Regions from separate parts of the Homo sapiens genome. Here region 1 is linked to region 2. The links are contacts of gene promoters, found by promoter capture Hi-C in human tissues and cell types (Jung and others, 2019). All regions are on one chromosome and are shown on one strand. Each heading gives the region's core, a stretch centred on a gene start or on the middle of the fragment in contact. The rest is flanking DNA. Distances are from core to core; before and after follow the strand shown. Region 1 overlaps HECTD2-AS1 (HECTD2 antisense RNA 1). Region 2 holds the start of ANKRD1 (ankyrin repeat domain 1).

The links. The method cuts DNA at HindIII sites, captures the fragments that hold promoters and counts their contacts. A contact is called where the count stands out against the background at its distance.
Region 1: a fragment that was not itself captured here is called in contact with the fragment with the promoter of ANKRD1 in region 2 in 1 of the 25 tissues and cell types used here (bladder).

The regions. Positions count from the first base shown.
Region 1 is chr10:91,385,744-91,392,585 of GRCh38, reverse strand. All of the region lies in intron 3 of HECTD2-AS1 (HECTD2 antisense RNA 1), which reads left to right. Among named protein-coding and RNA genes, the nearest start is that of HECTD2, 21 kb to the left of the region's middle. The HindIII fragment of the contact is 6,638 bases long and covers 212-6,842 here.
Region 2 is chr10:90,919,404-90,926,311 of GRCh38, reverse strand. ANKRD1 (ankyrin repeat domain 1) reads left to right here and starts at 5,225. Exons shown (of 9, transcript NM_014391.3): 1 at 5,225-5,311; 2 at 5,964-6,143. The coding sequence starts at 5,285. It also overlaps the pseudogene RNU6-740P. RefSeq lists an enhancer at 136-1,022. The HindIII fragment of the contact is 6,615 bases long and covers 1-6,414 here.

The DNA of each region.
Region 1 (6,842 bases), core at 2,281-4,780, 470 kb before region 2:
CCATGCACCGCCCCAACCTGCCCTTTTAAAAGACCTTCATTCCATTAAATAAAATAATGTTATATGATTCTAAAACCCTTATCTGTGGCAATGAGTCTCTTCATGACTGTTTGAGGGAAAAATTCCACTGGTCAGTACAGTAGGCAGAATTTCTAAAATCATCCCCCAAGATGTTATATCCAACTACCCAGACCCTCTGCATGTGATGAGATTCAGTCCTGTGATGGTGTTGTATTATATGGCATAGTTAACCTTAAGATAGGGAGAATATCCAGGTGGGCCTCATCTAATCAGATAGGCCCTGAAAACAGGAATGCTTTCTGATGCTGCCAGCAGAAGTCAGAGAGATTCTTAGTGTGAGAAAGGCTCCCTGTGCCATTGCTGGCTTTGATGACAGAGAGAGCTATCTGAGAATGTAAGTGGCCCTAAGGAGCTAAAAGAGAGGCCCCTGGCTGACTGCCAGTCAGGAAACAGGGATCTCAGCCCCACAACTGCAAGGAACTGGATACTGCCAACAACCTGAATGAGCTTATAAGTGGGTTCTCTGTAGAGCCTCCAGATAAAAGCCCAGATGGCCCACACCTGGGCCTCAGCCTTGTGAGCCCCTAAGTAGAGAAACCGGTGAAGCCTACTCCTGACCCACAGAACTATGAGATCATGAATGTTTTTTTTTAATTAATCTACTTAATTTGTGATTTTTGACACCATAATAGAAAACTAATATAGTCAGGAAAATTATGAGCAAAACATTCACGGTAGAAGGGATCTCAGAGAGCTTCTAACCACTGGTGTCCTTGACAAAGAAGGACCCTAGACACAGTAGACAGTGTGAAACCCAAGCTATTTCAAAGCTCTAAAAAGCCTAAATTAAGTCACACAATTATTAATCAAATAGTGCTGTACAGACCTACTTAACCTTGATAGATGATAATCAAGTTTCTTTGTTTTTACCCTCACTAGAATGTAAGCACCACTTGGGCAGGGATGTTGACTCTTCTGTTCACAGTTATCCTTAATGTCAAGAACAGAACCTGATACCCAGTAGGCATTCAATAAACAAATACATAATTAGGGCCAAAATTATATCATCAGTATGATAAAAACACATTATTCAACTGTTAACAATTACTTATGCTTGAATTCATTAAAGAGATAATAATAAACTTTGAATGTGTAAATGCAGTTAGATTGGCCAAATCATTCAAAACATAGGCTTCATGGGTAGGAAAAAATAACAAAAGGGACATTAGTTATTAATTTGTGTTTTTTTTGAAAAACATTTTGTCCATTCCCCCTTCTAAAAATCCAGATGAGGAAACTGAAGCCAAGTGAGGTTAAGTAATAAATATGTAACTGTTAGCTAAATTGTGGTACTGGTTCTAAATGTTTGTGATAGAAAGCCGTTTAATCAAAATGAATCTGTCCACATTCGAAACTGATGGGTGCTGCTGATAAATCAACTGTGGGAAGAAAAAGTGAAAACAGACTAAAAAAAGCAGGCTTCAGAGCCACAGTTACTGGAACACAAACTCCATTCCATTTAGTTTAATTAAACCAAACTTAGCAAACATCTATGATGTGAGATATTAATAGACACTCTGGGTTATGAGGATGAACAGACATGCCCAGATCCTCCAGGATTTCCAGTCTAGGAGGGGAGCTAAGGCATGAACCCAGGTAAATGCAATACAAGGTAGAATGTGAAGGGTACTACTGGGGGGTACAAATAAAGAACTATGGGAGCAAAACTGGTGGAGAGCTTTTTTGTAGCTGGAAAGGTGGGGAAAAGTTTCACAGAGGAGGTGTCATCTGTTGCCCTGGAAATGGCACTGAGTGGAGTTTCCTCTAAAGTTTATTTACATTGTACAGAAGAAATGTCACATCAGAAACTTGTCCCTTGAGGCCAGGCATGATGGCTCATGCCTGTAATCCCAGCACTTTGGGAGGCTGAGGTGGGCGGATCACTTGAGGTCAGGAGTTTGAGACCAGCCTGGATAACATGGTGAAATCCTGTCTCTACTAAAAAATACAAAAATTAGCTGGGCATGGTGGCACGCACCGTAATCCCAGCTACTCAGGAGGCTGAGGCAGGACAATCGCTTGAACCTGGGAGGCAGTTTGCAGGGAGCCAAGATTGCCCACTGCACTTCACCCTGAGTGACAGAGTGAGACTCAGTCTCAAAAAAAAAAAAAAGAAAGAAACTTGCTCCTTGAATTCTTGTTTCATCACTGGTCTGAAATCTAAACAGAAGGAAAGCCAGCTGTAGAATTGCTATGTTCCAGAAATAAATATACAGAAACTTCTTAAATTGAAAGTTACACTCGATTTGTATTCTACTGAATTACAAGCACTCATAAATGTTTATTTCCTTGTAATTCATTTCTTTGTTAGATACAATGATGCTTAATTCCACCTTGTGGTTAACGTGGAGGATGGAGCATTCTGAGAATGTGAGAACATACAGCACTAATTTATTAGGATAGCTGCTTTCTGTCTGAGATGAATCCCATCTCCAATCCCATTTGTATTTTGTAGTTTTTTCTCTCCAGGCCAGGCAATTAATCCTTATGCTCTTTAGCACTCTGGCACTTAGCCTCTGTTTCAAGTGTTCTTTTTACATTTGTTGAATGTTTCCTCAAACTTAAATACCGAATTGACTAAAATGCATGGAAAAATACAAAGAATATGTGAGAAATATGTTATTTTTTAAAAAGTTACTTTCGTTATTCATCTGGAACTGCACCTGTGGTGTATAGTAATCTCGGTTACATTGCCCTCTAGTGGTGGTAGTACGGTAGTCATCTTATTAACATTTATTGAATATCTGCTGTGTAGGTAGGCTCTGAGGATATTGAGACAATTAAGAAACAGTTCCTACTCTTGTTGATTTCTCATTCTAGCAGAAGATGCATTTCAGCATAGCACGTGTGAAAAGGAACTGTGTAGGTAGGTAGTCATCTTTTCAGTAGTCATCTTATTAACATTTATTGAATATCTGCTGTGTAGGTAGGCTCTGAGGATATTGAGACAATTAAGAAACAGTTCCTACTCTTGTTGATTTCTCATTCTAGCAGAAGATGCATTTCAGCATAGCACGTGTGAAAAGGAACTATAGCAGGAGCACGTACAAAGGTCTATGAGTGCTCTGGGGAAGGAATAATTAATTCTCTCTAAGTGCATCCAGAAGGGCTTTTCAAACACATTACACTTCAGCAGCACCTTGGAAAGTGCATAGGAGTGTTTCAGGTATTCTGTCTTCAAGAGACCCATCTCACATGCAATGACATCCATAGGCTCAAAGTAAAGGGATGGAGAAAGATCTCTCAAGCAAACAGGAAAAAAAAAAAAAAAAAAGAAAGCCGGTGTTGCTTTTCTTATTTCAGAAAAAACAGACTTTAAAGGAACAATGATCAAAAAGACAAAGAAGGGAATTACATAATGGCAAAGGGTTCAATTAAACAAGAAGACTTGACTATCCTAAATATATATGCACCTGACATTGGAGCACCCATATTCATAAACAATTTTTAGGAACCTATGAAGGGACTTAGATAACTACACAGTAAGTGTGGGAGACTTGAACACCCCACTGACAGCATCAGACAGATCACCGAGGCAGGAAACTAAAAAAGATATTTGGCACCCAAACTCAACACTGGACCAAATGGACCTAACAGACATTTGCAGAACACTACCGCCAACAACAACAGAACATACATCGTTCTCATCCGCACATGGCACAGACCACACACTTGGCCACAAAGCAATTCTCAATAAATTCTAACTGAAATCATACCAACCATACTCTCAGACCACAGCAAAATAAAAATAGAAATCAATATTAAGAAACTGCTGAAAACCACACAATTACATGGAAATTAAACAATCTGCTCCTGAATGACTTTTAGGTAAACAATGAAATTAAGGCAGCCATCAAGAAATTATCTGAAATGAATGAAAACAGAGATATAACATATCAGAATCTCTGGGACACAGCTAAAGCAGTGTTGAGAGAGAAGTACAGTGCCTTCATCACTAAATGCCTACATCAAAAAGTCAGAAAGGTATCAAATTAACAACCTAATATCACAACTAGAGGAACTAGAAAAGCAAGAGCAAACTAACCCCAAAGCTAGCAGAAGAAAAAAACCAAAATCAGAGCTGAACTAAATTCAGATGTGAAAAACCATACAAAAGATCAGTGAACCCAAAAGTTGGGGTTTTGAAAGAATAAATAAGATTGATAGACCACTGGCTAGATTAATAAAAGATCCAAATAAACACAATTAGAAATGACAAAGGTGACATTACCATTGACCCCACAGAAATAAAAAAAAAATCCTCAGAGACTATTATGAACACCTCTATGCACACAAACTAGAAAAGCTAGAAGAAATAGATAAATTCCTGGAAACATACAACACCCACCCCCCGCCGCCCCAAGATAGAACCAGGAAGAAACTGAATCCCTGAACAGACTAATAATGAGTTCTGAAATTCAATCAGTAAGTAAAAAAAAAAAAAACCTACCAAACAGAAAAACTGCTGGACCAGATGGATTCACAGCTAAATTCTACCAGATGTATAAAGAAGAGCTGGTACCAAATCCTACTGAAACTATTACAAAAAATCGAAAAGGAGGGATTCCTTCATAACTCATTCTAGGAGGCCAGCATCATTCTGATACCAAAACCTCACAGAGACATAACCTATTTAACTATCACAATCCAGTTGATTTGTTGTATTTGCTTACATTGTGGGTGAGTGTCTTTTCTTTGTGCTGTAAAGAAGCTTGAGACTATTTCTGGCTTCTGGGAGTCCAGTCAACACCTGTGCAGACTCTTGGACTATGCTGAGCTCAGCCACCATTCAGCTGCATACCTTAGGCAGTTTCTTCTGATATATAAATATTTTTCAGGTGTGTGGAATAGGGGACGAGTGAAAGGGTGAGCGGAATAATCGTCTATGACTTAAGATCCTTCCCTCTGCAAAGGCAGCATCCTGTAGGGAAGCGAACATGGGTTCTGGAGGCAGACAAAGCTTAGGTCAAATCCTGGCTCTGCCACTCGCTGTGTGATATTGGAAGGTGTTTTGGTTTATCTGAATTCCAGTTTTCTTATCTGTAAAAAGGAGATACTAATACCTATCTCCAGGATTGCTGGAGGGATTAATAAAAGTATATAAAAAGCACCTGGCACAGCGAAAGTAATCTGTAAAGATTAATTACCTTCCCAAGTCCCCTTAATCACTGAAACAAGCTTAAGCTATACCAAACATCCACTTAAATATAGGTACAATGAAACAAATTTTATATGTGTTCCATTTTGCCAAAACTACCTAACATCTAGGAAGGGTCTTACGATCTGAAACTTGATCTCATCTGTCTCATCGCATTGGATCCTCACACAACCATGGGAGGGAGGGTATCTTAACATCTTTCACCCACCACTTACTGAGAGTCTGCTCTGTGCAAAATAAAATGGTGGGATTAAAGCACCCAATAGATGCCCTCCAGACACCCCACCCACCCCTAGTCAGGTAAGAAGAGGCAGATGATAAAACTAGCTACAATTCAGCTTAATAAATGCCATGGAACAGCTAAACAGAAGGTACTAATGGGGCACGGAGTAAGGACAACTAATTAAAGCTGCTCTTGAGGTAAAGTGGGCAGGTAAACGGAATCAGGCAGAATAAGTAAGAGTTTCTCTGGTGGGAGAAGGGAGGAAGGGTGCATGTTTTGGGGGTGATGAAAGTGAGCAAGTGAGGGAGAGAGCTGTGCAGACAACGGATGGAGTCGACCTTTCTGTGAAGAGAAATCCCAACTTCCTGAAGACAAAAAGTCCACATTTGTGATCAAATGAGTCTCTAGGTCATCACACTTTGGTCATTTATTTATGTGTATGATGGACATAGTGTTACGGAATGGGCTTTGTAGCCCAGGCAACTGGAGCTTCTTAGAAAAACTAAGTTACTTCTAACTGAAGTAACTGAGCCGTGCTCCAGTTAAGGCCTGAATCAAAATCATGAGTTAAATCAGCAGTGTTTCTAATTCTAATCAGACAAGCAATAATTGTTTTTGGAGTTATGGTGTCTATACAATTATTTCATATTTGCAGATATTCCTGTGATTTTTTTTCCTAAAGAAAACCATATGTGTTCCAGACTATTAAAACTGCCTTTAAAAAGTGGGGAAAGTTTCTTAGCTAACCATATGATATACTTATTCACTCTGTCTTTGCCCATTCCATCCATGCAACCTGCTCTTCGGCAGATGAGGCTGTCTTGGACTTACTCCCCATTTTCTCAGCTGAAAAGACAGCTCTCAAAAATCAGAATGCCAGTACAATACCCCCACCCTCTATCCTTGGCTTTGCTTTATGTGGTTTCGGTGACCTGAAATCGACTCTAGTCTGAAAATACTAGATAGAACACTTCAGAAATAACCAATTCATAAGTTTTTAACTGTGTGCCATTCTGAGTAGCGTGATAAAATCTTGTGCCATCCTGTTCTGTCCTGCTCTGATGGGAATCCTCCCTTTGTCCAGCATATCCACCCTGTCTATGTTACCTACCTGTTTGCCACTTAGTAGTTACCTTGATTGTTGCTGAATCACAGTGCTTGTGTTCAAGGTCGGTAGTAGCCTAATGCTAAGTCACAATGCCTACGTCATTTACCTCACTTCATCTCATTGCATCACGCACACCATATTTTATCATCCCACATCATCACAAGAAGGTGAGTGCAGTACAATAAGGTATTTTGAAAGACAGCAAGAGACCTCATCCACATAACTGTTTAATGGTATCTTGTTAGAGTTGTTCTATTTTATTATTAGCTATT
Region 2 (6,908 bases), core at 3,976-6,475:
CTCAAAACAATAAAATAAAATAAAATAAAATAAAATAAAATAAAATAAAATAAAAAATAAATGAGTAAATTGTATGTGTGTGTTTCCCATGGTCTTAGCATAGGCAAGAGTCTTCAACAATCAAAATTCTGAGACCAGAATAACAATAGCTTGACTGTCCACTACAACTTGGAGAAAATACACGTGTATTTAGATACATATTCATTTAATTCTACACCCTCGAGCAGTATTCTCAATGCTGGGAGGAAATTAGAATCAACTGGAAAACTTTAAAAAATACCAATTCCTTGGATCTTTGAGCAGAGATTTGGATTTCATGTGCCTGAGCTGAAGCCTGGGCATCAGCATTTTTTTAGAAGCTTCACAGAGGATTCTAAGATGCACCCAGCTTAGAGAATCACTGCTTGAAGAAATGTTAGTTCACACCTGAGAAGCCCTGACTCTGCGATTACAACTGTTGGGGTTAGTTAGCATTTGAAAGACACTAATGAGCTGCCCCCACTCCAGTGGAGGTAATCCCAAGTACTTTACCTATCTTTACCTTTGATAGTATTGACAGATTAATGGTTAATTAGCATGAGAAATGTTACCAATTATTTCTCATTGAAAGGAGAATTTGAAATATGTGGTTTGGTTAGAAAAGAATATGAGCCCTGCTGGGTCTCAGGTAAATATTTATTTAGCCCCACTATGTGTCAGGCACTTTTCTATGCAGTTGGAGTCCTAGGCTTATAGTGAGTGCTAGGACTCCATCCTATCTTGTGTTAGGCCATATGTGGAGGAGTCTGTAATCACCTTGAGTGGACTAGAAAATTAGCTGAAATATGCTGCCAGAATGTGGTTGTGGTTTCATTTGCTTCAAGTGAAACTTTTTCTTTTATTTTTTTTTAAATAAAAAAACATAGAGCCAGGATCTCGCTATGTTGTCTAGGCTGGTCTCGAACTCCTAGGGTCAAGTGATCCTCCTGCCTTGGCCTCGCAAAGTGCTGAGGTTACAGGCATGAGCCACCATGCCTAGTCAAGCGAATCTTTTGTGCTGGACACTGTCCAAGGGCCTAAATGGACAAAGGGCTGGGCTTCATGAGTTTACTGAATAGTGCATGTGGCCCTTTGTGCCTGTTGGCTGGTGTGAGTTCATATGTGTGGCAGAATTTGCACTGAGATACCTTATTTACTGTAACAAGGCACCTGCTGTAAGGTGTGGAGGTGAGACCTACAGCCTTCACCTACCTCTAACGTCAGGAGGCCACCGATATCCGTAAAAAGTAACCTACTGTGGGCAGCCCAACTGTGTTAGGGCAGTTTGTGCCCTTTCTATCCAGAGTCCTGGGCAGAAGGACTTTAGTCTTGATTCTGCCTTTCGAGAGGCAAGGAAGGCAGGTGCCACAATCCTGCTGAAAATGTTTCCAGTACTTTTCTGCTTTTCAAATACAGGTTATCCCATTCCTGGCAGGGGAGGGGAAACAACATTAAACCTTATTTGCTTCACTTTTATGACCTTCCTTTGGCATTTTCAAACACGTAACTGAGCCATGGCTTGCTGGTCAGGCTAAGTCAGCCACTTCTCTGGGCCAAGGAAGGTGCGTAACAGCTGGGACTGGGAAGGCTATTAAAAGGGATGGCAAAATGAGCAATTGTAAGTACAACAGTGGAACAAGGAGGTTTCCAAGTCAGAATCTGGCTACAGTCCTTGGAGCACTTCCTTTTAGTATCAAGTTGGGTGTTCTAAGGACAAGGAGTGTTAATAACAATAAAATTTTATGTGCTATAAAATGCCTTTTTAGAAAATAAAAATGCCCATTTTAAAAAAACAGCCTACATGTCCACAAATGAGAAAGTGGTTAAATAAGAAATGGTAGGTCCGTGCATGGAAATTCATGCAGTTGTTTCTAATAGCAAGATAGATTTGTTTGTGCAGATAGGAGACAATCTGTAAGACACGGTTACTGAGCGAAAAATAATCAAGTATCAAATCGACAGTAAGATCTGAACTAAATAACATTCTCTGTGCTATTTTTAACAATAATGTGTCTATTATATAGTTAAAATATAAGAATGAAAAGTTGGAGTAGAAGTAGAACGTCTGGAACTTCATATTTTATACAGAAAGATAAAACTGCCCTTGGACTTGGAGCTGAGCTATGGCACATGGATCTGGGTGGGGTCCAAGCGCCTCTTTTAATCCCTAGGTGACAGCAGTAATTGCTTTAGGTGCTACTTCTCTGCTTCTCACTTTCTCCAGCTATAACCATGGTCCTAATTCTAGTCACATGTCATTTCACCCATGGAAATGCATAAATCCTGAGGGGAGTGGGAAAAGGCTCATGGGGTGACACTGGAGAAGCTCAGGGATGCTTCCTTTACTCTTTCTGGTTGGAGATGGGTGATGCCAAGTTGCTTTATGATTGTAGAACCAACTAGGACCTTTATTGTTTTAATTCATCTTAGTAAGGATAGATTATGTCCAGATTGAGGCTATGATAAAGCCAAATACACAAATATAAGAATTTACACCACTGGGTGAACTTTTATGGGAAGGATGCTTCTGAAAAACAAATGACAGAAAACTCTCCGCCAGGGGAATTTTTTTCTCAATTTTGATGAATAAGAACGATTTGAAAATACAATGGTTGTTGTTTTTATCTTTTTAGAGAGCTAAAGGTGCCTAGAATCTCTTTTCAAAAAGCAGATTCTCTCATGTTTTTTTTCTTTATTTGTTGTCATATTCTTTTTACATCTTCTGACCACTTATCCTCAAGTTGTACCTCTCATGTTTTATAATGACAAGCTGGATCAACATGGGAAAAGGTTGAACTGGCAGTGATTTCACCAGCCCTGACATCCTTGCATCCACCAGCGTGCTCCTTTAAGTTCAGCCCATTCCATCAACTCATCTTCAAGTGTCATCCTCTGCAAAGTTTTCTTCAAGACTTCCTGGAGCCTCTCTATAGAATCAGCTAGGTTTCAAGGGATAATTAAATGCCTGGAGAAAGAAAAGGGCTTGGTAAGCCTCCCTGCCCACTTTCACTTGCATTCTTTGAGGTGATTGAAACAGTAAGGAGCCATTTAATCAGTTTTGGTTGCATCCTGAGTGGGTCTAGGTGAGACTTGCCCTAGGAAATCTTTTGGGCTCAATGATTGTCTGCTTCTGTTGGATGGAATCAGGACTCTTCAACCTAGCATTCACCAACTAGCTGTGCATCTGCAGCAAGTTACTTAATGTTTCTTTGCCTCAGCATCCTCTCTGTAAAATGAGAGCATTAGTCTTGCTCCAACTTCGAGGGCATGGACAGCTCTGGGATTTCATATCCAAGACCCTTAAACATCCCACAGTCCTTCCCCCAAACACTTCTCCTCCTAATACCTCCCTCAGTTTGGGTCAGGCCTGGAACAAAAAGGCATACGAAATGGTAGAAAAAGTGTCCATGACTACTTCTGACTTAGATGAAGAGACCAATGAAAATAGTAATGACTCTGTTTGCTTCAGCAGGACATATACTAAAATAGGAGCTATACAAAGAAGATTAGCATGGACTCTGTGCAAGAATGACACACAAATTTGTGAAACATTCCATATATTAAAAATAAATAAATAATAAAGAGAAAAGGAAAAAATTAAAAAGAAAATAGTGATAGCTGTGTCCATCTCAAAGAAAAGCCCAGGAGATTTCCTTTAATTAACCCCCTTTTAAGATAGAATATTAGGAGACCGGAACATATGATACAGGAGGTACTGGGAGGGTCCCTCTTTGTCAATGTTTTGTCTTGGGGTGGGGAGTCGATGTCTTCTCAAAGTTTCAGAAACACCATCCACTGACTGAGCATTCAAGGGGGAAGAGGAGAATGGCAGCCACATTTGTTGATTGGGTGAGTTTGGGGAGAAATAGACACACAAAGGTCAAACATAACTTCCTAATTAACACTTCCCTCCATTCACAATTCCCTTCTCCCATTCTTCTCTCCTTTCTTTTACTGAAAAAAACCCAGTTTTTCCTGAAACTATAAAAAGACCCCAGTATTTTTACATAATTTACACCTCAAAGATTAGAAACCAGAAATAGAGACCTTTTTCAACCCTTCCGGAAGCAAAGTGCATTATCCCTCCAGCCACGTGTCTCAAATCTTGATGCATCAGAATCATCTGGGTGCTTTGAAATTCAAGATGATTCCTACGAGTTACCATAAATCAACTCAGAATTCCCTGGAGTGGGGCCCAGGGATCTGTATTTCTGACAAGCTCCCACAGGTGATTCCTTTCCCCACAGCATTTGAGAACTTCAGCTCAATGACCTAATCAGAGTCCTGCCATTGCTAATAACTGGTCTCATTTTTTTCATATATATATATAGTATTTTTGGTAGAGATGGGATTTTGCCATGTTGCCCAGGCTAGTATTGAACTCCTAAGCTAAGCAATCTTCCTGTCTCTGCCTCCCAAAATGTTGGGATTACAGGTGTAAGCCACTGCACCCGGCTGATAGCTGGTTTCATTTACTCTATTTCTTGACCACTCTGATCCATTTTGAAGTAAAAATGCTCCAATTATTATGCTGTTTTAGAACACGGTAAGCATGTCATGTGCTAATTATGGCCAGTGACATCATAAAAGAAAAGTGCATTACTGAATGCTTTCAATTTCTTATAATGATGGTAAGGTGGCATGTCATGGGGCCTATTTAGCCCCAGACATCACTCCAAAGAATTCCAAACAGATATAGACAAGTGCCTTTAGGGCCCAGATCCCTTCCCCTCAGGCTGTTTACCCAGGGAATAGGATGTCCTGGGACAAGTTTCCCCTAAGTGAAGTGTTGATAAGTCTGCTTATCAGAAAGATATTACTGGGGGTGTGATATGTAGGGCATCTACATTTTCTTGATAGGTAGTCATATGAAAGCTGACAAAGAAAAAAAGGGCAGTGATGTGGTGCAATGTCAACAGACAGCTGTCCCCTGACTCTTGACAAATAGGATGACTTGCATTGCTGAGCGATGTGATCACCACCAAAGGAATGGCCCTCTCACATTTCTTCCTGATTCACATATTCAGCAGGGTTAGCTTGTCCTCCCCTCCCTCTTCAGCTTCCCAGACACTGAGTCTGGAATGAAAATTCACCTGCCTCTGAGTTGGCTCCTAATGGGGGTGGGAGTGTTACTTCGGTTCCCAGGTTGGAAGATTATCTCACCCGGCCCCAGCTATATAAGCTGACCGGTGTGGAGGGGCCCAGCAGGGCCAACTCCAGGGATTCCTTCCACGACAGAAAAACATACAAGACTCCTTCAGCCAACATGATGGTACTGAAAGTAGAGGAACTGGTATGTAAGATGCATTAATTTTATAAAATGAAAACTGGTTCATCTTGGTTTTTATTTGAAAATTGAAATGCCCTTTGCTTTCAGGTGTAATGCAAGGGAACTCTGAAAATGTCATATATGGAAAAAGGTTGATGTGATGAAACAAGTGAAATTGGAAAAAAAAAATGGAGCTACCAGTAATGAATTCTCTGCATATTTCCTATTTAATATCTTCTCCTTTGGTTTTATTACTACAGTGTGGAATCACGTGTAGTTATCAAAATGTCTTAGGGAAGAAGTGTTATTGAAAGAATGTAAGCCCGGAAACTTTACAATAAGGCGAAACTCATCAAAAGTACCTAAAGTTGAGTTTTAATTAAGCAGAGAAGGTTTTTGATTTTCCTAAAAGAAATGTGATTAAGCAGATTAAAAGTAGATTTAATCTGTCAACCTAACCCAAGCTTTGATTTAACCAAGAGAGTAGGACAAGCATCTGAAGGTAATTCTGGGACAATTGTAGCAGTGTGCATCGCAGCTTGAGATCTGAGAGTGCACTGCTCAAAGGTGGCTGTTCCCAGGGGAGAAGGACCAAGAGCCTCCTGCGGCATTGTCTGTGAAGAATGACCCAGGACGAGGCTGCTGCTTCTGACGCTGCCATCTTCTTCCCTCATAGGTCACTGGAAAGAAGAATGGCAATGGGGAGGCAGGGGAATTCCTTCCTGAGGATTTCAGAGATGGAGAGTATGAAGCTGCTGTTACTTTAGAGAAGCAGGAGGATCTGAAGACACTTCTAGCCCACCCTGTGACCCTGGGGGAGCAACAGTGGAAAAGCGAGAAACAACGAGAGGCAGAGGTGAGAGCCATCTGTGGAATCCACTAGTAGGATGTTGGGGCTGGGGTAGGGAATGGAAATGTCAGGGAAGGAGAAGAGAGAAACAAACCCAATCATTAAGATGTCTCTTTACCAGATTCTAACCCGTAAAGAGGCAACTTGTATGGAACAGGTTTTGGGAAATAACTCTTTGACAAGACTATGACCTCTGAATTCTGAATCAATGAATAAATGTGCTGTGACCATGTTTTGATTGAAAGATACACATGTCCAGTGAATTCCTGATGTTACACACCATGTAGTTAATCCCAAGCAACGGAGATCTCTTTTTCTCAATAACATGGTCTGTGGTCCATAGATCATTGTTTAACTGTCTGCTATCTGTGTTGACACAATCTGTGTTTCTGGGTGAATTTTCCTTAATTACTAACACAGATAAAATTTGCTTTAGTTAGCTGTGGTCCCTGGACAGTCTGTTTTAGAAGGCTCTGCTTAGTGAAAGAGAATGACATTGATATTTCAGAGCTTAACATTTATTGTTAGATTCTTTTTATCATGCTCAAAAATTAAACCAAGTTTTGAGCATAATTTTAAAAATCCTTTAAAAATCTAAGACTTGCTTATGGCATTAATTACAAAGTCATCACTTAGAGACCAGATCGTGTCCTCAATTGGTCAAGGGCTGATTCTACAAGCAACAGAAGTAAAGATGATGGCAATTAGCTGAAAATTAGACTCCCAGATAAATATCTGAATAAGAAATCCCTAAAATGAAGTCAAAGATTT